Regions from separate parts of the Homo sapiens genome. Here all the other regions are linked to region 2. Evidence: promoter capture Hi-C in 16 types of primary human blood cells and fetal thymus (Javierre and others, 2016). All regions are on one chromosome and are shown on one strand. The core of a region is centred on a gene start or on the middle of the fragment in contact, and the rest is flanking DNA. Distances in the headings are between cores, read along the strand shown. Region 1 has its middle 5.2 kb from the start of SLC30A4. Region 2 holds the start of AFG2B (AAA ATPase AFG2B). Region 3 has its middle 18 kb from the start of SLC28A2-AS1. Region 4 has its middle 38 kb from the start of SLC28A2-AS1. Region 5 overlaps LOC124903482 (a long non-coding RNA gene).

The links. The method cuts DNA at HindIII sites, captures the fragments that hold promoters and counts their contacts. A CHiCAGO score of 5 or more calls a contact.
Region 1: a fragment that was not itself captured here is called in contact with the fragment with the promoter of AFG2B in region 2 in 1 of 17 cell types (naive B cells); the score reaches 5.4 in naive B cells.
Region 3: a fragment that was not itself captured here is called in contact with the fragment with the promoter of AFG2B in region 2 in 7 of 17 cell types (M2 macrophages, M0 macrophages, M1 macrophages and 4 more); the score reaches 13.9 in M2 macrophages.
Region 4: a fragment that was not itself captured here is called in contact with the fragment with the promoter of AFG2B in region 2 in 4 of 17 cell types (M2 macrophages, M0 macrophages, M1 macrophages and 1 more); the score reaches 11.1 in M2 macrophages.
Region 5: a contact is called between a fragment that was not itself captured here and the fragment with the promoter of AFG2B in region 2, in 1 of 17 cell types (M2 macrophages). The highest score is 6.4, in M2 macrophages.

Annotation. Positions count from the first base shown.
Region 1 is chr15:45,525,373-45,530,523 of GRCh38, reverse strand. It overlaps the pseudogene HMGN2P46. Among named protein-coding and RNA genes, the nearest start is that of SLC30A4, 5.2 kb to the right of the region's middle. The HindIII fragment of the contact is 4,217 bases long and covers 1,054-5,151 here.
Region 2 is chr15:45,400,856-45,405,511 of GRCh38, reverse strand. AFG2B (AAA ATPase AFG2B) reads right to left here and starts at 3,176. Exons shown (of 8, transcript NM_024063.3): 1 at 1,994-3,176; 2 at 7-192. The coding sequence starts at 3,082. It also overlaps a transcript of GATM not described here. RefSeq lists silencers at 2,344-2,493, 2,884-2,963 and enhancers at 3,044-3,203, 3,594-3,663, 3,674-3,723. The HindIII fragment of the contact is 3,246 bases long and covers 1,406-4,651 here.
Region 3 is chr15:45,294,494-45,299,400 of GRCh38, reverse strand. No RefSeq gene overlaps it. Among named protein-coding and RNA genes, the nearest start is that of SLC28A2-AS1, 18 kb to the right of the region's middle. The HindIII fragment of the contact is 8,488 bases long and covers 1-4,907 here.
Region 4 is chr15:45,314,479-45,319,484 of GRCh38, reverse strand. No RefSeq gene overlaps it. Among named protein-coding and RNA genes, the nearest start is that of SLC28A2-AS1, 38 kb to the right of the region's middle. The HindIII fragment of the contact is 5,565 bases long and covers 1-4,141 here.
Region 5 is chr15:45,332,901-45,337,873 of GRCh38, reverse strand. The region is part of intron 1 of LOC124903482 (a long non-coding RNA gene); the gene reads right to left. Among named protein-coding and RNA genes, the nearest start is that of GATM, 43 kb to the left of the region's middle. The HindIII fragment of the contact is 5,643 bases long and covers 1-4,807 here.

The DNA of each region.
Region 1 (5,151 bases), core at 1,913-4,412, 130 kb before region 2:
ACTTCAGCCCAGGAGTTCAAGACCAGCCTGGGCAACATAGTGAGACCTGCCCCTCCACCCTGTCTCACTAAAATAAAAAATAAATAAATTCTTCAGACTAGAAAAACGTATGAAGTCTCTTAAAAAAGAATGGCATACTGAGCAATAGCTAGCAAACAGAATTGCAGGCAGTACCGAGATTATAAGTGTGCACTGTTTCAAAAGTTCATTTGTCTATTATTATAAACTCCGAGTGCGTAGAAATAAGGTTGCAAATTGTAGTTACATTCCAAGCCTATTTGCAGAAGTCTATGTATTTAGCCCATTTTGAAGCTCAGTGATAGAAATCATGCCACTAGTCTGAGGGCAGGCTGAGGAATAAGAGCCCATGTGATAAAGGAATAAGAAAAGTGTCTTTCCTGGTATGCAGGAAAACTGATACATAACATATTAGTTATCTATTGCTGTGTAACGAAGTATCCCAAAACTTGCCATCTTAAAACAAACATTTCTTATCTCATGCAGTCTCTGTGGGTCATCTGAGAATGGCTTAGCTGGGTGGTTCTGGCTCTGGATTTCTCCAGGTTTTAGTTAGCACTGCCCAGTCTATAGTTATCTGAAGGCTTAGCTGGGACTACAGGGTCCACTTCCAAAATGGTTCACTCACATGGCTGTTGGCAAGAGGCCTCAGTTCCTCATCACACACGCCTTTCCACAGGGCCACTTGAGTTCCTCATGACACAGTAGCTGGCTCCTCCTAGTGCAAGCGATCCAAGTGTGAGGATGAGGAGGCAGCTGCAATACCTTTTATGACCTAGTCTTATAAGTCACACAGAGTCACTTCTGCCATATTCATTACAGGCCACATGCAACTCATTTAGTGCAGTCCACGCTCAATAGGAAGGAAATTAAGCTCCACCTCTTGATAAGTAGAGTATCACAGAATTTGTGGATATACTTTAAAATCACCATATAGAGTTTTTGTTGTCCTCCCATCACTTTCTCCAGGTACCCAGTGAGAAAAATAATAAAAACAAACTGGGAGGCAGAACTGCAGCCCTATTCAACAAAGCTTGCTGTAAGTACCCAAAACAATTCACGCTCTTTCCTTAACTTTTCTTAAAAACATTTATCCAATTTCTTTAAATGGAATCTTCTTTGAAGGATTTATACTAAAGAGAAAATGATCACACTCCTAAAATATTTTCTTTATCCGTTTGTATCTCTCATTAGTAGAATTTCAGACAGTATAACAAAGTGAAATTCAAAACAACTACAAAAAAACCTACTCCCAAACCCGGTGGATTAAAATATTTGGAGTTAGGAAAGCAACCCCCAGTAAGATCTCTCCTTTCAGCTGATTATTACCAGAGTGCCCTGGTTAACCAGGAAATAGTTTTCCCTTCCTGGTCTAGGGAACATGGAATCTCTGATCTAGGTTTCCTACCTTGATTCCCGTGGCTGCAGCTCTGTAGAAATATGATGGGCATTTAAATCCGAGGAGTCATATTTAAAGGAGTTGATTTCTTGCATCTGAGGCATACAAGATTCTAAAGTGCCATTTCAATCTTCAGAGGAAAATGACGTTTCATGTGACTTTTTATTGTATTTTTTGTAACTTGAAATTTGGTAATACATGGGGACTGTTATAAAAATACAACATTCATAAACACTGGATAGGCCGGGCGCGGTGGCTCACGCCTGTAATCCCAGCACTTTGGGAGGCCGAGGTGGGCGGATCACGAGGTCAGGAAATCGGGACCATCCTGGCTAACACGGTGAAACCGCGTCTCTACTAAAAATACAAAAAATTAGCTGGGCGTGGCGGCGTGCGCTTGTAGTCCCAGCTGCTGGGGAGGCTGAGGCAGGAGAATGGCGTGAACCCAGGAGGCGGAGCTTGCAGTGAGCTGAGATCGCGCCACTGCACTCCAGCCTGGGCAACAGAGTGAGACTCGGTCTCAAAAAAAAAACGCTGGATAAATAGGAGTTTGCCCTACAATTCAACTCAAGTAGAAGCTAGGGGCTGGACCTTTAAGATGAGCTCTCCTGACAATGTTGTTGTTTTTAACCTAATTTGAGTCAATCCAATTTGAGAATACGATGAAAGCTAAAAGACTTATCCCAGAAAATATACATGTCCTCAAAATTTTGCACATAAGTTTAAGGCCTCCCAAACTCCCTAAAACCCACTCAGAAAATCTAGATTAAGAATCTCTAAAACAGCCAGGTGTGGTAGCTCATGCCTGTAATCCCAGCACTTTGGGAGGCTGAAGTGGGTGGATCACTTGAGGCCAGGAGTTTGAGATCTGCCTGGCCAACATAGTGAAACCTCGTCTCTACTAAAAATAGAACAATTAGGCTGGGCGCGGTGGCTCACGCCTGTAATCCCAACACGTTGGGAGGCCGAGGCAGGTGGATCACCTGAGGTCAGGAGTTCGAGACCAGCCTGGCCAATATGAGGAAACACAGTCTCTACTAAAAATACAAAAAATTAACTGGGGGTGGTGGCAGGTGCCTGTAATCTCAGGTACCCAGGAGGCTGAGGCAGGAGAATTGCTTGAACCCTGGAGGCGGAGATTGCAGTGAGCAGAGATCGTACCACTGCACTCCAGCCTGGGCAACAAGAGCAAAACTCCATCTCAAAAAATAATAATAATAATAAATAATAACAATAAAAATAGAAAAATTAGCCAGGCATGGTGGTGCTTGTGTGTAATCACAGTTACTCGGGTGGCTGAGGCATGAGAATTGTTTGAACCAGGTAGGCAGAGGTTGCAGTGAGCCGAGATCACACTACTGCACTCCAGCCTGAGTGACAGAGCAAGACCCTGTCTCAAAGAAAAAAAAAAAACAAAACTGTAAGATTTTGCTAGGGGTGCATATTGCCATTCCATTGTGATATTATAATTTAGGTTTAAATCAGAAGCTACTACAGAATTTAAATATTGGCTGGGCATGGTGGCTCACACCTGTAATCCCAGCACTTACAGGAGGTTGAGGCAGGAGGATCACTTAAGCCCAGGAGTTCAAGGCCTGCCTGGGCAACATGGCAAAAAACCATCTCTACAAGGAAAAAAATACAAAAATTAGCCGGGCATGATGACAAGCACCTATGGTCCCAGCTAGTCAAAAGGCTGAGGCAGGAGGATAGATTAAGCCCAGGAGGTCAAGGCTGCAGTGAGCCGAGATCGCACCGCTGCGCTCCAGCCTTGGCAACAGAACGAGACCCTGTCTCAAAAAAACAAAAAACAAAAAAGCCACAATTATTTCTTCTTCCTCTTTTTTTGGTTTTGTTTTGTTTTGATTTTTAAAGATGGGGTCTCCCTCTATTACCCAGGCTGGAGTACACTGGCACAATCATAGCTCACTGCAACCGCCAATTCCTTGGAGGCTTTAAAAAAATTTTTTGGAGAGACGGGGTCTCAATATGTTGCCCATGCTGGTCTTAAACTTCTGACCTCAAGAGATCCTCTCCCCTTGGCTTCCCAAAGTGTTGAGATTACAGGTATGAGCTACTGCATCTGGCTGTTTTTTGTTTTTTTTGTGAAACAGACCCAATAGCCAAAAGGACACCTCTATAGGCACACCTTGTTTTATTGTGCTTCACTTTCTCGCACTTGTTAGATATTGCCAGTTTTGCAAATTGAAGGTTTATGGCAACCCTGTGTCAAGCAAATCTGTCGCCGTCATTTTTCCAATAGCCTGGGCTCACTTCATGTCTCTGTGTCACCTTTTGGTAATTCTCTTAATATTTCAAACCTTGTCATTATTATTATATCTGATATACTGATCTGTGATCAGTGATCTTTGATATTACTATTGTAATTATTTGGGGACATCACGAACCTTGTCCATATAAGATGACAAACTTAACTGATAAATGTTGTATATGTTTTGACTGCTCCATTGACCAGCCGTCCCCCTTCACTCTCCCTCTCCTTGGCCCTCCCTATTACGAGACACAATATTAAAATTGGGCCAGTTAATAACCCTACAATGACCTCTAAGTGTTTAAGTGAAAGGAAGAGTTGTATATCTCTCACTTTAAATCAAAAGCTAGAAATTATTAACCATAGTGAGAAAGGCATATGGAAAGCTGAGATAAGGATGGGCATGGTGGCTCACGCCTATAATCCTAACACTCTGGGAGGCTGAGGTGGGAGAATTGCCTGAGCCTGAGCAGTAGAGGTTTCAGTGAGCCATGATTGTGCCTGTGCACTCCAAAAAAAGGAAAGAAGGAAGGAAGGACGAAAAGAAGGAAGGAAGAAAGGAAGGAAGGAAGGAGGGAGGGAGGCAGGCAAGGAAGGAAGGAAGGGGAAAGGAGGAGGGAAGGGGAAGGAAGGAAGGGGAAAGGAGGGGGGAAGGGGAAGGAAGGAAGGGGAAAGGAGGGGGGAAGGGGAAGGAAGGAAGGGGAAAGGAGGGGGGAAGGGAAGGGAGGGAAGGGAAGGAAGGAAAGAAAAAAGAAAGAAAGCTGAGATAGGCTGAAAGCTATGCCTCTTCTTTTTTTTTTTTTTTTTTTGAGACGGAGTCTTGCTCTGTCGTCTAGGCTGGAGTGTAATGGTGCGAGGCTCACTGCAACCTCCGCTTCCCAGCTTCAAGCGATTCTCCTGCCTCAGCCTCCCAAGCAGCTGGGAGCTACTCGGCACATGCCACCACACCCAGCTAATTTTTGTATTTTTAGTAGAGACAGGGTTGTCTCTACTATGGTAGAGGTCCACCATGTTGACCAGGCTGGTGTCGAACTCCTGACCTCAGGTGATCCGCCTGCCTCAGGCTTCCAAAGTGTTGGGATTACAGGCGTGAGCCACCATGCCCTGCACTATGCCTTTTCTTACCCAGGTTGTGAATGCAAATGAAAAGTTCTTTTTTATTGTTTGGGTTTGTTTGTTTGTTTGTATTAAACTTTTATCACTTGACTCTGGGAAATGGGAAGGTTCTTGAAGGAAATTAGAAATACCCAGACCAGCCTGGGCAACATAGTGAGACCCTGTCTCTATTTAAAAATAAATAAATTAAATAATTTTTTTAACAAAAAAGAAAAGTTTGAAGCTAGCAGAGGTCGGTTCATGAGATTTAAGGAAAAAAGCAATCTCCATAACATAAAAGTGCAAGAAGCAGCAGCAAATGCTGATGGAGAAACTGCAACAAGTTGTCCACAAGGTGTAGCTAAGA
Region 2 (4,656 bases), core at 1,927-4,426:
TCTTACCTTCTCACTATGAAGGAGGGCATGCATGGCAGCCTCCCTACAGAGTGCTGTCAGGTCGGCACCAACATAGCCAACTGTCATTTCTGCAAGAAGGCCCAAATCAACATGACTGGAGATGGGCATCTTCGAGGTAATCACTTGCAGAATTTCCTTTCTTTGTTTAAGTGTGGGAGTCCCAATGACCACCTATATGCAAAGCAAAACAAAAAAAAGAAGAAGAAGTATATAGTTTAAAATATATTATTTTTAAAGTTGATCTCATGGATGGAGGTAGACAGCAGAATGATAGCAACCAGACACTGGGAAGGGTTGGGGGTGAGGGGATGAAGACAGGTTGGCTCATGGGTACAAACATACAGTTAGGTAGAAGGAATATGTGTAATGTTTGATAGTGTAGTAGGGTGACTATAGTTAACAATAATTTCTCGTATATTTCAAAATAGCTACTAGAGAGAATCTGAAATATTCCCAACACTCAGATAAGAAATGATAAATGTTTGAGGTGATGGATATCCTAAGCACCCTGATTTGATAATTACAAATTGTATGCATGTACCAAAATATCACATGTACCCCAAAACATGCACAATTATGTATCAATAAAAATAGATCAATTAAAAAAGAATTACTTCCAAAAAAATTTTATATATGTGTGTGTATACATATATATATTTTTTTTTTCTTTTTTTTTTTTTTTTGAGACACAGTTTCACTCTGCTGCCCAGTCTGGAGTGCAGCGGGCACCATCTCAGCTCACTGCAACCTCCACCTCCTGGTTCAAGTGATTCTGGTGCCTCAGCCTCCAGAGTAGCTAGAACTACAGGCATGTGCCACCATGCCCGGCTTATTTTTTGTATTTTTAGCAGAGACGGGGTTTCACCATCTTGGCCAGGCTGGTCTCGAACTCCTGACCTCAGGTGATCCACCCACCTCAGCCTCCCAAAGTATTGAGATTGCAGGCGTGAGCCACCGCGCCCGGCCAAAATAATAATATGTTTTTTATCCTGACAAACATGTACGACAATTTAGTGAACCACTTTGGAACTAGTACCGTGCACTTTACGTATACTTTAGATTCTGAATATACGAAAATCCTAATATTCCAGAGGAGTAACACTGGCTAGAAAGTTGCACAATGAAAATTCTATGTCATTTAACAAGTTTTTGTTATTTTTAAGAACACACAAAGTTCTAGAAGCCAGGTATAGATAGCTAGGTCCCTGCCCTTAAGGACACAGGTACTAGATAGTGCAAGGAAGAAATCCACTCAAGTCCTGAACTAACTGAGCTAAAAGTGTGTAATTATCATTTCTCTTTTGAATCCTATCACAAAATAGAAATATCAGTCACTAAATTTCAAACTGTTCTTTAGAATTCAAGTCAATTTAGGACCAAAGCTTAAAATAGGACAGCTCTGAATATTCAACCTCCCTGACAACTCAGGGAGCAGTTGTGGGTACCTCCTCAATTGTGGAATAGGATGCTGGTGTTATGACAAGGAATGAATAAATCCAGAAGAGTTAATGCCTGCTTCCATTTAGTTCTTCCCCACCTTCTCCCTTTTTATTTCAACACACTTACTTCTTGAGGCTATCCTTCTTTAAATTCTCATTCCAAAAAATGAGTTTAACACGCTTGTAGGTGACCAAAATTCTCTTAAGAATTAACATTACTGATTATAGGACCTGCACAACAAAATTAATCTGTAATGGACACCTCGCTTCCCAAAACAATTAGACTCTGGGGAAACAGGTCCTGACTCTCAGATCCTGACTCACAGGTCCTGACAATTTGACTCTGGGGAAATACAGGTCCTGACTCACAGATCATATATCGGCAGAGAACGTGTTCTCTGCATTGCAAAGAGCCCCAACTCCAACCTCACCGATGCTCAAACCTAAGAGGCAAACGCCTCCGGGGCAGCCAAATGGCGCCAGAAGCGGCCGAGGTTCCACCGACAGTGGGCAAACCCGCCAAGCCCATTCACCTCTCGGTCAAATCTCCCGGGCCTACGCAGCGCTGGGTCTAGAGCGTCCGGCCGGTTAGTGGCTCCCACAACCACGACCTCGCGGTCCCCACTGGCGCCGTCCAGCAGCGTCAACACCTGGGCCACTACGCGGCTCTCGGGTGCTCGACTGCCCCGCTGGGGACACAAGGCGTCCATCTCGTCCAGGAAGAGGAGGCTGGGTCCGCGGCTGGCCAGTTCCCGGGCGCGCTGGAAGACCCGCCGCACGTTCTCCTCGGTCTCCCCAGGCCGGGAACCCTGCAGCGCCGGGGCGCTGACTGCCAGCAGCTCCGCGCCCGCCTCGCGCGCCACGGCCCGCACCAGCTGGGTCTTGCCCACTCCGGGGGGCCCCGCCAGGAGCACCCCGCGAGGCACCGCTAAGCCCAGCGCGGTCAGGGCGCGCGGGTAGCGGAGCGGGAGGCGGAGGAGCTCCCGCAGCGAGTCGGCCGCCTCCGAAAGACCTCCCAGGGGCACCTCGGGCTGCGGCTGGGCTTCCGACGGAGGCTCCCCGCCAAGGCTGACGCGGGTACGAGGGGTGACCAGCCCAGCGGGATCGGGACTGGGCGTCCCGCCGACGATGTGCAAGGCAGCCACCAGGCCAGGAGCGCCTGGCGGAGCGACCACCACGTGGCCCAGGGAGATCGGTCGGTTTCTCAGCAGCTCCTGTGCCGCCTCCAGCACCGCGGCTGTATTCCGGGCACCGGGCGCGCCTGCCCGCTCTCGCAACACCGGCCACACGGCGACGCGCCGCAGGGGCGGACAGGGCACTAGGAGGAGGCGATTCAGGCTGAGACTCCTCCGGGATCTCGACGCCCCGACCGCCGCCCCGGGGCTCGCGCACAGCGGGTCCAGCTGCACAAAGCCGTCCGCTCCGTCCCGCCGAGGCCAGGCAGTGCAGAGGCAGGAGCCGCCGTCGGGTAGCGAGATCTTCACTGCCGAGCCCAAGCGCGCGCCCAGGGCGTGGAGGGCGGCCGGGCCCAGGCGGCAGCGCTGGGTGCCCCGGTCTCTAGCGTCTAAGGGTAGCAGCTTTAAGAGCGGCCCTTCAGGGAAGGGATCCGAGTCCGGAGCCATCGCACACAGATGAACCAGGCAGACGAAACCAGATTAGGAAACCCACCCGGCCCACAAAAAGCGGAACACCGAGCTCGCAGGCCGGAAGCAGATTGCGCGCATGCGCTAGGGCAGACTGCGTTGCTAGCAGCTGAGTGAAGGCCGAAAGGGCCAATGGAAACGTTAGACGACGCTCGGGCCTCTGGGTAGAGCGTTGGTGTCCGCTTTCGTGAAATCGAGTTGCCTAACCCAGAGCTTTCCCGAGATGGTCTTCGTTACAGGTGTCTGGGAGGCGGCTTAAGCTCACTTCACTAGGTCATTAAGCATGTACTTTGGTGGTTACATATATCTTGGAAGTCACCGGCTTTACATTCTGTTTTCCTGGCCTTCGAACTGGAGCATCAGTACTACCGCCGTTGGAATAGCAACCTAGAGACTTTGCTATTTTGTGAAGAAACTCTAACTATCCGCATGGGCACAGAATTTTGGGTGCTCTGGTGCAAATGTCTCAGGTGACTTGGCGTAACTGAGAATACAGCCTTGGGACCTTCGGTAATCGGGGTTCCAATCTGGGAGGTCCAGGCACAACCCTTCCTATGGGAAAGTACCAGCATAGTGGGAGGGAAGCACACGGTAGCGCTTAAAATCCCTTGTAGAGAGGAAAGAAGGAAAACTAGGCTACCTGATGGATTTGTAGCACACCAACAGTACATTTGTTCTGATTTCTGATATTCTTTTGAATATTCTTTGGCAACAAGTTAATCACTAAAGTTCATGCGATCAATGCTTACTGTCTAATTGGGGCACAACAGTACTAAGTCCTGTATTAGAGGCGATACCTATCTACGTTATTAAGACAACTGCCTGCTATTTTTTTTTTCCAGCTGCTTTCTGCCTTTCCCTTTCGCACAGGGAATTCCTTTTTATCAGCTGGAATACATTTTCTATCCCTCTTAATTGCCGTTAAAAAAGAACTACAGATACTCAAAGACAAGAAGATATACCTTGTTTTTATTTGACTTACATCTTCCTACCTCTATTTTCCCCACTTTCACTGCAACCCAAATTTGTGAGTTGACAAAACTGATATTTTAGAGTGCTTAAGTTGCTGGGAAGTTTTTTTTTTCTATCTATGCAAATAATCAATTACAGACTGTGTAGTAATATCTTATCAATGGGAAGTACTGTCAGATCTGGGATCTTAAGACCCATGCCAGTTCCTGATCTCATTCTGTCCAAACTTCATGGCAGACATGACAGACTTCTTGACTTGACAGTAACTTACCTGGTCTCAGCTGTACTTGTCTGCTTAAATCGATTCTGGAACAATTTAGGAATCAGAAAATAGCAGGAGGAGGTCTTGAAATGGATAAGTCACCCATTACTTCCTGTTTTCTTTTTTCCTCTTAATCCCATTGGCTTCAGTTCTTTTTGGTTTGGGGACTTTTAAATAACAGCTTTGCATTTTTTGAAATAAAAAAAAAGCCATCGTTTTTACCGACCCCTAAAGGTGTGAATTACATGCCTATCAAGTTATTTTATCAGAAGCCTGTACCTCATCGAGTTCCTTCTATTCAGCTCCAAGAAGCTTTAAG
Region 3 (4,907 bases), core at 1,857-4,356, 110 kb after region 2:
AGAAACCCCTGATAAAATCATTAGATCTCATGAGACTTATTCACTACCATGAGAACAGTATGGGGAAAACTGCCCGCATGATTCCAATTATCTCCCACTGGGTCCCTCCCATAACACATGAGAATTATGGGAGCATAGTTCAAGTTGACATTTGTGTGAGAACACAGAGCAAAACCACATCATTCTGCCCCTGGCCCCTCCAAATCTCATGTCCTCACTTTTCAAAACCAATCATGCCTTCCCAACAGTCCCCCAAGGTCTTAACGCATTTCAGCACTAACCCAAAAGTCCACAGTCCAAAGTTTCATCTGAAACAAGGCAAGTCCCTTCTGTCTGTGAGTTTGTAAAATCAAAAGCAAGCTAGTTACTTCCTGGATACAATGGGGGTACAGGTATTGGGTAAATACAGCCATTCCAAATGGGATAAATTGGCCAAAACAAAGGAGTTACAGGGCCCATGCAAGTTCAAAATCCAGCGGGGCAGTCAAATTTTAAAGCTCCAAAATAGCCAGGCACAGTGGATCATGCCTGTAATTTCAGCACTTTGGAAGGCCAAGGCAGGTGGATCATCTGAGGTCAGGAGTTCAAGACCAGCCTGGCCAACATGGTGAAACCCTGTCTCTACTAAAAATTCAAAAATTAGCCAGGCATGGTGGTGGGTGCCTGTAATCTCAGCTACTCAGGAGGCTGAGGCAGGAGAATTGCTTGAACCTAGGAGGCAGAGGTTGCAGTGAGCTGAGATCGCACCACTGTACTCCAGCCTGGGCAACAAGAGTGAAACTTCATCTCAAAAATTAAATAAATAAATAAATTAATTAATTAATTAAAAATAAAGCTCCAAAATGATCTCCTTTGACTCCAGGTCTCACATCCAGGTCACACTGATGTAAGAGGTGGGTTCCCATGGTTTTGGGCTGCTTCATCCCTGTGATTTTGCAGGGTACAGCCTCCCTCCTGGCTGATTTCATGGGCCAGCATTGAGTGTCTGTGGTTTTTCCAGGAGCACAGTGCAAGTTGTCAGTGGATCTACTATTCTGGGGTCTGGAGGATGGTGGACGTCTTCTCACAGCTCCACTATGTGGTGACCCAGTAGGGACTCTGTGGGGGCTCCAACCCCACATTTCCCTTCTGTGCTGCCCTAGCAGAGGTTCTCCATGAGGGCCCCACCCCTGCAGCAGACTTCTGCCTGGGCATCCAGTCATTTCCATACATCTTCTGAAATCTAGTCAGAGGTTCCCAAACCCCAATTCTTCACTTCTGTGCACCTGCAGGCTCAACACCACATGGAAGCTGCCAAGGCTTGGGGCTTGCACCCTCTGAAGCCACGGCCTGAGCTCTATGTTGGCCCTTTTCAGCCATGGCTGGAGCAGCTGGGATGCAGGGCACCAAGTCCATAGACTGCACACAGCACAGGGACCCTGGGCCCTGCCCATAAAACCATTTTTTCCTCCTAGACCTCTGGGTCTTTGATGGGAGAGGCTGCTGCAAAGGTCTCTGACATGCTCTGGAGACATTTTCCCCATCATCTTGGGGATTAACATTTGACTCCTCATTACTTATGCAAATATCTGCTTGAATTTACAAATATCTGCTTGAATTCCTCCTCAGAAAATGGGATTTTCTTTCTTTTTTTTTTTTTTTTTGATGGAGTCTCACTCTGTTGCCCAGCCTGGAGTGCAATGGTGCAATCTTGGCTTACTGCCACCTCCATCTCCTGGGTTCAAGTGATTCTCTTGCCTCAGCCTCCTGAGTAGCTGGGATTACAGGTGTGAGCCACCATGCCTGGCTAATTTTTGTATTTTTAGTAGAGACGGGGTTTCACCATGTTGGCCAGGGTAGTCTAGAATTCCTGACCTCAAGGGATCTGCCCACCTCAGCCTCCCAAAGTGCTGGGATTACAGGTGTGAGTTGCCGCGCCCAGCTAGGATTCTTTTCTATCGCACTGTCAGGCTGCAAATTTCCTGAACTTTTATGCTCTGCTTCCCTTTTAAAACTGAATGCCTTTAACAGCACCCAAGTCACATCTTGAATGCTTTGCTGCTTAGAAATTTCTTCCACTAGATGCCCTAAATCATCTCTCTCAAGTTCAAAGTTCCACATATCCCTAGGGCAGAGGCAAAATGCCACCAGTCCCTTTGCTAAAACATAACAAGAGTCACATTTGCTCCAGTTCCCAACGAGTTCCTCATCTCTATCTGAGACCACCTTAGCCTGGACCTTATTGTTCATATCACTATCAGCATTTTTGTCAAAGTCATTCAACACATCTCTAGGACGTTCCAAACTTTCTCACATTTTTCCTGTCTTCTTTGAGCCCTCCAAACTGTTCCAACCTCTGGCTATTACCCAGTTCCAAAGTCGCTTCCACATTTTTGGGTATCTTTTCAACAACACCCCACTCAACTGGTACCAATTTACTGTATTAGTCCATTTTCACGCTGCTGATAAAGACATACCCAAGACTGGGAAGAAAAAGAGGTTTAATTGGACTTACATTTCCACAAGGCTGGCAAGGCCTCAGAATCATGGTGGGAGGCAAAAGGCACTTCTTACATGGTGGTGGCAAGAGAAAATGAGGAAGATGCAAAAGCGGAAACCCCTGATAAAACCATCAGATCTCATGAGACTTATTCACTACCATGAGAACATTATGGGAGAAACTGCTCCCATGATTCCACTTATCTCCCACTGGGTCCCTCCCACAACATGTGGGAATTATGGGAATACAATTCAAGATGAGATCTGGGTGGGGAACAGATCCAAACCATATCAGTCTGGCTCCAGTGAGTGTGCTGCAAACCCACTATAACCACTGTCTCCGGAAGCCTAGGATGAACATGGCTATAATTCAAGAAGCAAATTACTGAGGCTTCCCTCTTTCTTTGAGTCAGGTTTCAAAGACATGGGAGATGGGGGAGAAGGATGAGGAAGAGGATCAAAGGGTTTTTTTTTGTTTTGGTGCTGTGTTCTCTGAGCTTGGTGGGTTGAATGATGAAGTGGTGATATAGTTTGGATATTTGTTCTCTCCAAATCTCATATTGAAATTGATCTCCAGTGTTAGAGTTGGGGCCTGGTGGGAGACGTTTGAGTCAGGAAGGTGGATTCCTCATGACCAAATTGGCGTCATCCTCACTGTAATGAGTGAGTTCTCTATTAGCTCACAGGAGAGCTGATTGTTTAAAAGAGCATGGCACTCCTGTCCCCTCTCTTGTTCCCTCCCTCACCATGTGACACGCCTGCTCCCCTTTCACCTCCAGCATGGTTGGAAGCCTCCTGAGGTCCTGGCCGGAAGTAGATGCTGGTACCATGCTTCTTGTACAGCCTGCAGAACAGTGGGCCAAATAAACCTCTTCTCCTTATAAATTACCTCAGGTATTCCTTTACAATAATGCAAAACAGACTGAGTAAACATAGAGGATGTGAGTATTCTTTTGAAATCATTTTTAAAATTTATTTGCTAAAATATTAATAGAAAAATTATTAATAGAAAAATTATTAAATGATCTCTTATTAAAATGGAAAAAGATGGCTTGGTGCAGTGGCTCACACCTGTAATCCCAGCACTTTGGGAGGCCAAGGCAGGTGGATCACCTGTGGTCGGGAGTTCAAGACCAGCCTGACTAACAAGGAGAAACACCATCTCTACTAAAAATACAAAATTAGCCAGGCATGGTGGCACATACCTGTAATCCCAGCTACTCAGGAGGCTGAAGCAGGAGAATCGCTTGAACCTGGGAGGCAGAGGTTGTGGTGAGCCAAGATCGTGCCATTGCACTCCAGCTTGGGTAACAAGAGCAAAACTCCATCTCAAAAAAATAAAAAATAAATAAGGAAAAAGACATGACTATTTAATACTAAACCATAGTGAAGAATTTTAAAGAGCAGGATACCCCAGAAGTTTGTAAATAGAAAGTATTTTTGTTTCAATATTAATAGTTAAAGAGATATGTAACAGCTGTGTAAATGTGGGAGTGGGGGGACTGTCCATTAAGTTTATACACTCCTTTCAAATGATTCTGTAGTTGCAAGAATTTCAGCTCACCCTCAAAATGTCTAGAAATAGAGTTTTTCTCCACAAGTGCTATTCTTTGCTATACCACATTACGTCATACAATTTATAGAATGACTATGAGGAATTAAAATGTTAAGATTTTATTTGACATGGTAATGTTTATTATTTCAAACCTAATTCAGGTAGGATCCACAGACAATTTTAAATATTGTTGAGGAAGTTTTCATTGTTAGGATACAGCGAACCAAAACCAAACATTAACATTTTCTATTAGAGATATTGGTGAATTGATTGTAGAATGGGAAGTCACTAGCTTTGCCAACAAAAAGGTAGCCTGAATGAGGAATGCTGAGGAAATGGACCAGTCTTACGCATGGTGGTATGCTTAAACTCCAAAGTCTTTTCCACCTAGGGACTGGCAAAAGATGGTGCCCTCTAGAGAAGTGCTACAATGAAAAGGGAATGGAATGCATGGTGGTTCAGAATGATACAAAGCAATGAGACCGTATTAGTAAGCTAAGCAGCTAGGGAAAGCCTTCAGCAATGACTTCATGAACAAAAATTTATTTTCCCTTTCATACCCCACATTACACCAATAAGAAGTTCTGTAAAGTGTGCAGTAAAAACCACTTCCTTCAATTCTACCCCTGTCAGGGAATCACTCCCCAGGCTTTGTCAAAATCAAGTTTATGCTTTGCAGTTTTATTTATTTCATGGGCTTTCATCTTAAAAATTGAGTTAGCTACTCAGAAGGTACTTCTTGTGGTGGGCCTCTCAGCAGGCCCCTCAACACACCTCACCCTCCTCTCTGCCAGAGTAACACTGTCCTTGCCTCTCTGAGTTAGAGAGTGGCAGTGGGGTCGGCCAGGGAGTTTTGCCACTTACTTTCTAGATA
Region 4 (5,006 bases), core at 110-2,609, 84 kb after region 2:
TGTAGATTGTGAATCTTCAGATAAATTCTGCCATTGTAATTTCATTTCCTGAAAGTCAGGGTCTCCTTGTAAAAATGTGTTAAACAACATGCTAAACGTGGAGTGCCAACCGTCGCTTGAAACTTTCCCTACTCAGAACATCAGATAAAGATTTCAATAGGTTTTTTTTATACGTATATACTTTAAGTTCTAGGGTTCATGTGCACAACATGCAGGTTTGTTACCTAGGTATACATGTGCCATGTTGGTTTGCTGCACCCATCAACTCATCGTTCACATTAGGTATTTCTCCTAATGCTATCCCTCCCCCAGCCCCCCAGCCCCCAACAGGCCCCGGTGTCTGATGTTCTCTGCCCTGTGTCCAAGTGTTCTCATTGTTCAATTCCCACCTATGAGTGAGAACATGCGGTATTTGGTTTTCTGTCCTTGTGATAGTTTGCTGAGAATGATGGTTTCCAGCTTCATCCATGTCCCCACAAAGGACATGAACTCATCTTTTTTTATGGCAGTATAGTATTCCATGGTATATATGTGCCACATTTCCTTAATCCAGTCTATCATTGATGGACATTTGGGTTGGTGCCAAGTATTTGCTATGGTGAATAATGCTGTAATAAACATATGTGTGCATGTGTCTTTATAGTGGAATGATTTATAATCCTTTGGGTATATACCCAGTAATGGGATGGCTGGGTCAAACGGTGTTTCTAGTTCTAGATCCTTGAGGAATCGCCACACTGTCTTCCACAATGGTTGACCTAATTTACACTCCCACCAACAGTGTAAAAATATTCCTATTTCTCCACATCCCTCTCCAGCATCTGTTGTTTCCTGACTTTTTAGTGATTGCCATTCTAACTGGCATGAGATGGTATCTCATTTTGGTTTTGATTTGCATTTCTCTGATGACCAGTGATGATGAGTATTTTTTCATGTGTGTGTTGGCTGCATAAATGTCTTCTTTTGAGAAGTGTCTGTTCATATCCCTTGCCCACTTTTTGATGGGGTTGTTTGTATTTTTCTTGTAAATTTGATTAAGTTCTTTGTAGATTCTTGATATTAGCCCTTTGTCAGATGGGTAGATTGCAAAAATTTTCTCCCATTCTGTAGGTTGCCTGTTCACTCTGATGGTAGTTTCTTTTGCCCCGCAGAAGCTCTTTAGTTTAATTAGATCCCATTTGTCTATTTTGGCTTTTGTTGCCATTGCTTTTGGTGTTTTAGTCAGATTTCATTGGTTTTTATACTGGCTTTCTGATTTTGATGGTCCACGGAAGGAGGAAGTTTGAACGTTGTTGTATACTGTTAACAACTGTCTGCCCATGTCCTGCCTGGACTATCATAATTGTTTATGAAGAGTATCTTTAATAAAGCTGGATGCAGTTTGACTTAGGAAAAAATATTAATTATAAGAGCAAACACTGGAAACAACTAAAGGAAAATGGCTAAGCTAATTACAATGTAATATTTAAATATTATTTAATTAAATAAGTTACATTAAAAAGATAATCATTAATTTTAAAAAGCACTAATGTAATGTTTATATAATATTAAGTGAAAAAGGGCAGAAACAGTATATACATTTTACATATGTATATATCAACTACATTAAAAATACACAAAGAAAAAAGTCTGGAAAGAAATAACATAATTCATCAATTCTAAAGATGCATTTTCCACCATCACACACATTCTCTAAAATTGGGTCACATCGTACACCAATGCATTAAATGTAGTGTCCTTTTTTTCTAAAAAGCTATTGGAATATTTGAATTTCCATTAATGTATTACTTTATTTTTTTTAATGTCAATGAGCTTATCTGGGTAGTGAGATTATGGGTCATTTTGTGTTCTTCTTTGTTCTTTACTATATATTTTTTAAAACTGTATTTTAAATTTTTTAGGAGATTGTCATGGGAAACCCTAGGCAAATTTCTGTTATTAACATGTAATGATTTGTTTTCATTTTCTTTTAGTAGGACAAGGGAGCTAACAAATAATGATTATTAAGAAATTTTTGATAGGATTTGTGTGATCCTTCCCAGACTCCGTGTGTTTGTACTACAATATGGAAAGAGTATGTGCAATGTTTGCAGAACACATGTAAGAAGTCACACTCTTCTTCGTTAATGCTTACTTGCTATTTAATGATTCCGTTAGAAAACTGAGATGGAGGTCAGGTGCAGTGGCTCACACCTGTAATCCCAGCACTTTGGGAGGCCAAGGTGGGCGGATCACTTGAGGTCAGGAATTTGAGACCAGCTTGGCCAACATGGCAAAACCCCACCTCTACTTTCCATTTCATTTCATTTGAAAGCCTAGTCCAGAGACAGGAGATTCTCTTTATTTTTGGCAAGGTTCTAAATGGCTAAGTGATGAAAGGAAAAGGGAATCCTAGTACACTGTTGGTAGAAATGTACATTGGTACAGCCATTATGAAAAACAGTATGGAGGTTCCTAAAGAAATTAAAAATAAGGCCAGGCATGGTGGCTCATGCCTGCAATCCCAGCACCTTGGGAAGCTAAAGCTGGCTGATTGCTTGAGTCCAGGAGTTTGAGACCAGCCTAGGCAACATGCAAAACCCCGTCTCTACTAAAAATACAAAAAATTAGCCAAGCATGGTGGTGCGTGCCTGTACTCACAGCTACTCAGGAGGCTGAGGTAGGAGAATCACCTGAGCCCCAGAGGTTGAGGCTGCAGTGAGCCAAGATTGCGCCACTGCACTCCATCCTGGGCAGCCAAAGTGAGACCCTGTCTCAAAAAACAAAACTACCATACAACCTAGCAATCCCTCTTCTGGGTTACATTCCCAAAGAAGATGAATTCACCATCTCATAAAGATATCCGCACTCGCATGCTCATTCACAATAGCCAAGATATGGAAACATCTAACTGTCATCAAGAGATAAATGGAAAAAGAAACTGTATATATATAAAATGCAATACTATTCAGCCACTGAAAAGGAGATCCTGTCATTTGCCACAACATGGACGGACTTCAGAGGACATTATGTAAGTGAAATAAGCCAGATACAGAAAGAAAAATATTGCCTGATCTCATTTATATGTAGAATCTTTTTTCTTAAAGTCAAATATATAGAGATAGAGAGTAAAACAGTGGTTACAAGGCGTTGCGGCGGAGGAGAAGAAATGGGAACACATAAGTCAAAGGTTACAAAGTAGCAGGTGTGTAGGATGAACAAGTCTAGTGATCTAATGTGCAGCATAAGGACTAAATAAAATTGTATTCTATTAGGAATTTTTGTTAAATAAGCAGATTTTAGCTGCACTTATTGCACACAAAAAAGTAACTATGTGAGATTATAGACACGTTGATCTGCTTCACAATAGTAACCATTTTCCTATCCATGTGTATCCCATAATATTGTTATAAACCTCAAAATACACAATAAAATTTTTATGGCTAGGGCCAGGTGTGGTGGCTCACAACTGTAATCCCAGCACTTTGGGAGGCCAAGGCGGGTGGATCACCTGAGGTCAGGAGTTCAAGACCTGCCTGGCCAACATGGTGAAACCCTGTCTCTACTAAAAATACAAAATTAGCCAGCCATAGTGGCAGGCAACTGTAACCCCAGCTACTTTGGACGCAGAGGCAGGAGAAGTCCTTGAACCTGGGAGGTGGAGGTTGCAGTGAGCTGAGATGCACCACTGCACTCCAGCCTGGGTGACAGAGGGAGACTCCGTCTAAAAATAAAATAAAATAAAATAAAAAATAAAATAAAATTAAATAAAATAAATGGCTAGGTGATTATAATACCACTTATTTATTAATCTTTTCCATATTGATTTAAAATGATGCCTGAGTAATATACAAATCTCTCATATATACATTCTTAGACGCTCAATACTGCTCCCTTGAAGTATAGGTTTCTGCATAATATACCAAACTGTTTTAATCATTGTAACTTTGTGATTAAATATCTAATTAGGTCAGTGTATTGGTTATCTATTGCTGCATAACAAATTACCCCCCAAATTCAGCATCTTAAATCAACATTTATTATCTCACACAATTTTTGAGGGCCAGGAATCTAGGAGCAGCTTAGCTGGGTGGTCCTGATTCAGGGTTTCTTATGGAGTTGCAGTTAACGTGTTGGTAGGGGCTGCAGGCACTTCAAAGCTTGACTGGGGCTGAAAGATTCACTCCTAACTCATTCCTGTTGCTGTTGGCAGGCATCAGTTCCTCATCTGATGTTGGCCAGAGGTTTTGATTCCTTGCCTTGTAGACCTCTCCATAAGGGCTGCTCACATCATGGCAGCTTGCTTCCTCCAGACCGAGAGTGTGTCCGGAATTGGCAAGTTCTTGGTCTCACTGACTTTAAGAATGAAAGTGCGGACCCTAGCGGTGAGTGTTACAGTTCTTAAAGGCGGCGTGTCCAGAGTTTGTTCCTTCTGATGTTCGGATGTGTTCGGGCTTCTGGTGGGTTCCCGGTTTCGCTGGCTCAGGAGTGAAGCTGCAGACCTTCGCGGTGAGTGTTACAGCTCATAAACGCAGTGTGGACCCAAAAAGTGAGCAGCAGCAAGATTTATTGCAAAGAGCGAAAGAACAAAGCTTCCACAGAGTGGAAGAGGACCCTACCCAATTGCCACTGGGGCTCGGGCAGCCTGCTTTTATTCTCTTATCTGGCCCCACCCACATCCTGCTGATTGCTAGAGCCCAGTGGTCTGTTTTGACAGGGCGCTGATTGGTGCCTTTACAATCCCTGAGCTAGACAGAAAGGTTCTCCACATCCCCACCAGAGTAGCTAGATACGGAGTGTCCATTGGTGCATTCACAAACCCTGAGCTAGACACACGGTGCTGATTGGTGTGTTTACAAACCTTGAGCTGGATACAGAGTGCCGATTGGTGTATTTACAATCCCTGAGCTAGACATAAAGGTTCTCCATGTCCCCACCAGACTCAGGAGCCCAGCTGGCTTCACCCAGTGGATCCCGCATGGGGGCTGCAGGTGGAGCTGGCTGCCAGTCCCGCGCCGCGCCATGCC
Region 5 (4,973 bases), core at 737-3,236, 66 kb after region 2:
GGACTCACTAGCTATCTCATCATGTAGACTTTTTATCCAACCACAAAAGCTAAATCAGTTTTTTTCTTTCCTTTTGTTTTTCTGAGACAGTGTCTCACTCTGTCACCCAGGCTGAAGTACAGCGGCGCGATCACAGCTCACTGCAGCCTTAACCTCCTAGGCTCAAGTGATCCTCCCGCGTTAGCCTCCCGAGTAGCTGGAACTACAGGCACGCACCGCCATGCCCAGCTAATTTTTTGTATATTTTGTAAAGGCAGGGTTTCCCCATGTTGCCCAGGTTGGTTTCCAACTCCTGGGCTTAAGTGATCCTCCCACCTCAGACTCCCAAAGTAGTAGAATTACAGGCATAAGTCACTGCTCCTGGCCAAATATGTTTCTTTCCACACCAGTATTTTTCTTCCTCTATTGTAATGAAAGCCAAGCCTCTTTGTTTGCTCAATAACCATGATAGTAAATTACCAGTCTACAGCAAGCATTCTACAGAGTGAAGGAAAGACATGGTATTAACTATTCCTCTACACTGAGTTATGTGAACGGATCAGAGAAACCTGGTTTTTTCTTCTGTTTTTTTTTTTTAATTCAAAATTGGCTTTTATTCACAAGCAGTTGCATAGACCTTCCCATCAACATCACTGGTGTTTTCCAATGCCAGACAAGGAATTGGAAAGGAAACAATGGTCAAGTATATAATACACATGAATAAGGAAATTTGAATTAACCATTTCTCCCCAGGATTCTTTTTTTTTTTTTTTTTTTTTTTTGAGACAGTCTTGCTCTGTCACCCACGCTGGAGTGCAGTGGTGCAATCTCGGCTCACTGTAACTTCCACCTCCTGGGTTTAAGCGATTCTTATGCTTCAGCCTCCTGAGTAGCTGGGACTACAGGTTCATGCCACCATGTCCAGTTCATTTTTTTGTATTTTTAGTAGAGACAGGGTTTCGCCATGTTGGCCAGGCTGGTCTCGAACTCCTGACCTCAGATGATCTGCCTGCCTCAGCCTCTTCAAAGTGCTGGGATTACAGGCATAAGCCACCAAGCCCTGCCTTTCTCTGACTCTTAAGACTCCATCTTTTCATTCTTTGATTCTTTCATTCTTTGAACCCAGACAGAGAAAGATTCCATGTGGCTTATTCATCATCTAATTCTTGCTAAACCTCCTTCTACTGATAAAGGAAGTTGAGGGTTAACAGCATCAAGAGCCAATGTGTTTTTACACGTAGGCCTTCAGTCAGTACCACATGGACAATAATGATAATAACTTACACGTCTAAGTAACTTTGTAATTTACAAAGCACTTTCACAGCTATCTTATTTGCTCTTCTTAATACTTTGTATGGTAGACAGGGATTACTAGCCTAGCTTTAAAGACAAGACTGAGGCTCAATGAGATTAAGTGACCTGCCCAAGGTCACACAATCAAAAAGTGATAAAGACAAGAACTCAGGTCTTCTAAAATCCAGTCCAGTGCATTTTCCCACTATATCATACTAATGAAATGGGCTCTCAGCTGCTAAATCTGCCTTTAGAAATATCCAGTGCATGAGCCTATACTGTAGACGACAGGTGTCACACGGCTGAAGAAAATAATTGATGAAACCTATGGAAAGAACCAGTGACAAAGTTCTATAGTTTTCTCAATGGGTTATTTCTTTTAAAAAATAAAAAAAGAGGTGCCATTATGCAAAGCATAAAAATTTTTAATGACTCTAGCACCCCTTCTTTTTCCTGTGACCCTATTCTTTTCCTCAATTAATGCTGAGGCTGACTTGCAGTTCTGAGTTACATCAGTCTGGATGGATCTGTTAATGCCTTGCTGCGCAAGCTGTAGTGCATGGATGGTAGACAGATAGCATCAACATAATTTAGGAGCTTGTTAGAAATGCAGATCCTCTGTAGGTAACGATAAGGGAAAAAAAATGCAGATTCTTAGGCCAGATTCTCACCCTAGATCTACTGAATAAGAATTTTAATTTTAACAAGATTCCCCAAGTGATGTAAGGGCACACTTGTTCGAGAAACACAATGTTAATACGTATTTACAGACACATGTCAATGTCATACCGAAAATGATGCCATAGTAGCAGTTCATTAACGAACAAATAAAACACAGGGTCTATTTCAGAGTAAACGTATAGTATAGAATGACAGAAATAATTAGTAGATCAAAAGATATGTGAAAATTGAAACATTTGACTTAGGTTCTGGCTAACTCAGGTAGTTCAAATGACCATGAGATGTTGAAGTCATGCTGGTTACTGTATTAAAACATACAAACAGTCATTCCAAATAATGTTCTTAGTAGTATAAGCAGCAAATATGGGAAAATTTCCCATTTTCACATCGCCCTTACGTTCACAGAATTTCACCCTCTGGAAAGAGCCTACAGTCACCTAGCCACATATTTCTCTGCCCCGGCTGTATATTAAAATCATTTGAGGAGGTTTTAAAATCTGTAGTGGCCCCATCTCCAGAGGTCTTATTTGATTATCTAGGATGGGGTCTCGGCTCCCATGATTTAAATATGTAACCAGAGTTAAAAACCACTGCCTACTCAACTCCTTCACTGTACAGATGAGGAAATTGGGGATTTAATTAAAATAGTACCAATATAGCATGTTTAAATAAAAATGTTCATCAATAGGGAATGATTTATATAACCTGAAACTTGTTGACCAGGTGAGAGGCTTAACTGTTTCAACAAGTGTTTACCATTTACCATTTACTTTTTTTTTTTTTTTTTTTTTTGAGACAGAGTCTTGCTCTGTCACCCAGGCTGAAGTTCAGTGGATTGATTTCAGCTCACTGCAACCTCTGCCTCCTGGATTTAAGTGATTCTTCTGCCTCAGCCTCCCGAGTAGCTGGGATTACAGGAGCGTGCCACCTTGACCAGCTAATTTTTCTATTTTTAGTAGAGACGGGGTTTCACCATGTCTGTCAGGCTGGTCTCAAACTCCTGACCTCGTGATCTGCCCACCTCAGCCTCCCAAAGTGCTGGGATTACAGGCGTGAGCCACCGTGCCCAGCCCTTTTTTCTTTCTTTTCTTTTTTTTAAGGAACTATTTTTTTTTAAGGAACTAAAATAAAGGTCTTCTTTGTCCTTTAACTCTGAACAAAAGTTAACCTTTCTAACCTTTCTTTGGAAGAATTATTAACCAAATATTTACCTAAAGGGGCTGACATTGGGAAGTTTCAAAAGACTACAACTTGAAATAACATAATTGACTTCCATTTTTTAACTTTCTCTTAACCGAAATGACTTTAGCGTACATTCAAATAGTTAGAAGAGCTCTTATAAGTAGCTTACAAAGTTAAAAAACCAAACAAGAATAAAAATATGAGGCAAACAGGAAGTGTGGTGATTCTTTTTTTTTTTAATGACTGCACATTTTTTGACACACCTCCCACCAAGGGTGGGGTCTATTCCTTCCCCTTGGCACTGAGCAGGCTTGTGATTGCTTTAACCAATAGAGCAGGGCTCTGCAAACTATTTCTGTAAAGAGCCAGACAGCAAACATTTTAGACTGCAAACTATATGATTTCTACTGCAACTAATTCGTTCTGCCATTGTAGTGTGAAAGTACATAAATGATTAAACATGCTATGTTCCCATAAAACTTTATTTTTTTATTTTATTGTTATTTCTTGTTTTTGAGATGGAGTCTCACTCTGTTGCCCAGGCTAAAGTGCAGTGGTGCGATCTCGGCTCACTGCAACCTCTGCCTCCCAGGTTCAAGTGATTCTCCTGCCTCAGCCTCCTGAGTAGCTGGGATTACAGGCACACGCCACCATGCCCAGCTAATTTTTGTATTTTTAGTAGAGGCAGGGTTTCACCATGTTGGCCAGGCTGGTCTTGAACTCCTAACCTCATAATCTGCCCACCTCAGCCTCCCAAAGTGCTGGGATTACAGGCGTGAGCCATCACACCCAGACAAAACTTTATTTTAAAAAAAGACATCGCAGATGGATTTGGCATTGGGCCATAGTTTGCTGATCCCTGCAACAGAGTGTGGAAGAAGAGATGCTTTGTGATTTCTGAGACTAGGCTATAAAAGGCCATGCAGCTTTTGCCTGGATCTCTGGGAACCTTCTCTCTTGGGAAGCTCCCTCTTGGAGCCTGGCCAACATTCTGCAGGAAGCTCAAGCCATAGAGAGAGGCCATATGCAAGTTCTGTGGTCAGCAGCCACAGCTAAGCCTAGCCTTCATGTCATCCCAGCCCAGGCACCGGATCTGTGAGTGAAGAAGGCTCCAGATGGTTCCATTTCCAGCCTTTCAAGCCACCCCTCAGCATTTGAGTCGTCCCAGCTGAGGCCCTGGAAATCATGGAGCAGAGACAAAACATCCACACCATGCCCTATCTGAATTCCATAAGGATAATAAAATTGTTGTGTTCATGTTGCTAGGTATAGAAGTGTGGTTTGTTTTGCAGCAATAGATAACTAGAACAGGGACTCACTAAAAATCTAAGAGCACACAAAGAAGGCTAAAAATCTCAGAAAAGAAAGTTGGAGTCAAATAATTCAATTGAAAATATTTATGCCTTTTTTTCAAAAACAAGTTATGCTTTTTGTTTTTTATTTTTATTTTTTGGTGGACTTTATTAACTAATTAAATGGTTTATAGAAATCTTGTCTCTGAAGGTGAAAAACAGCAGTTTGTTCCTTTTTTCCTGTTTGTCTATTTTGTATTTTTTGAATCAAATCTATTAAGAATTTGTACTCAATTGGGGGAGAATTGCTTCAGTGATTTTTGTATTTCTGCTTGGATGAAATATAACTGGTTAAAATTTTAAAATTAAAACTGTAAGCTTTCTATCTGGGTCTGGATATACTTTTATGCGTCTGTGAATGTGTAATATTTTCTTACCTCCAGATGATATTGACACAATATTTTTTTCTTGGTCACTTTGCCAGCCGGGATCTCCGGCCAGCGACGTACCACTCCCCAGCCTGGACCTCCGTTGGCCATGCTACCT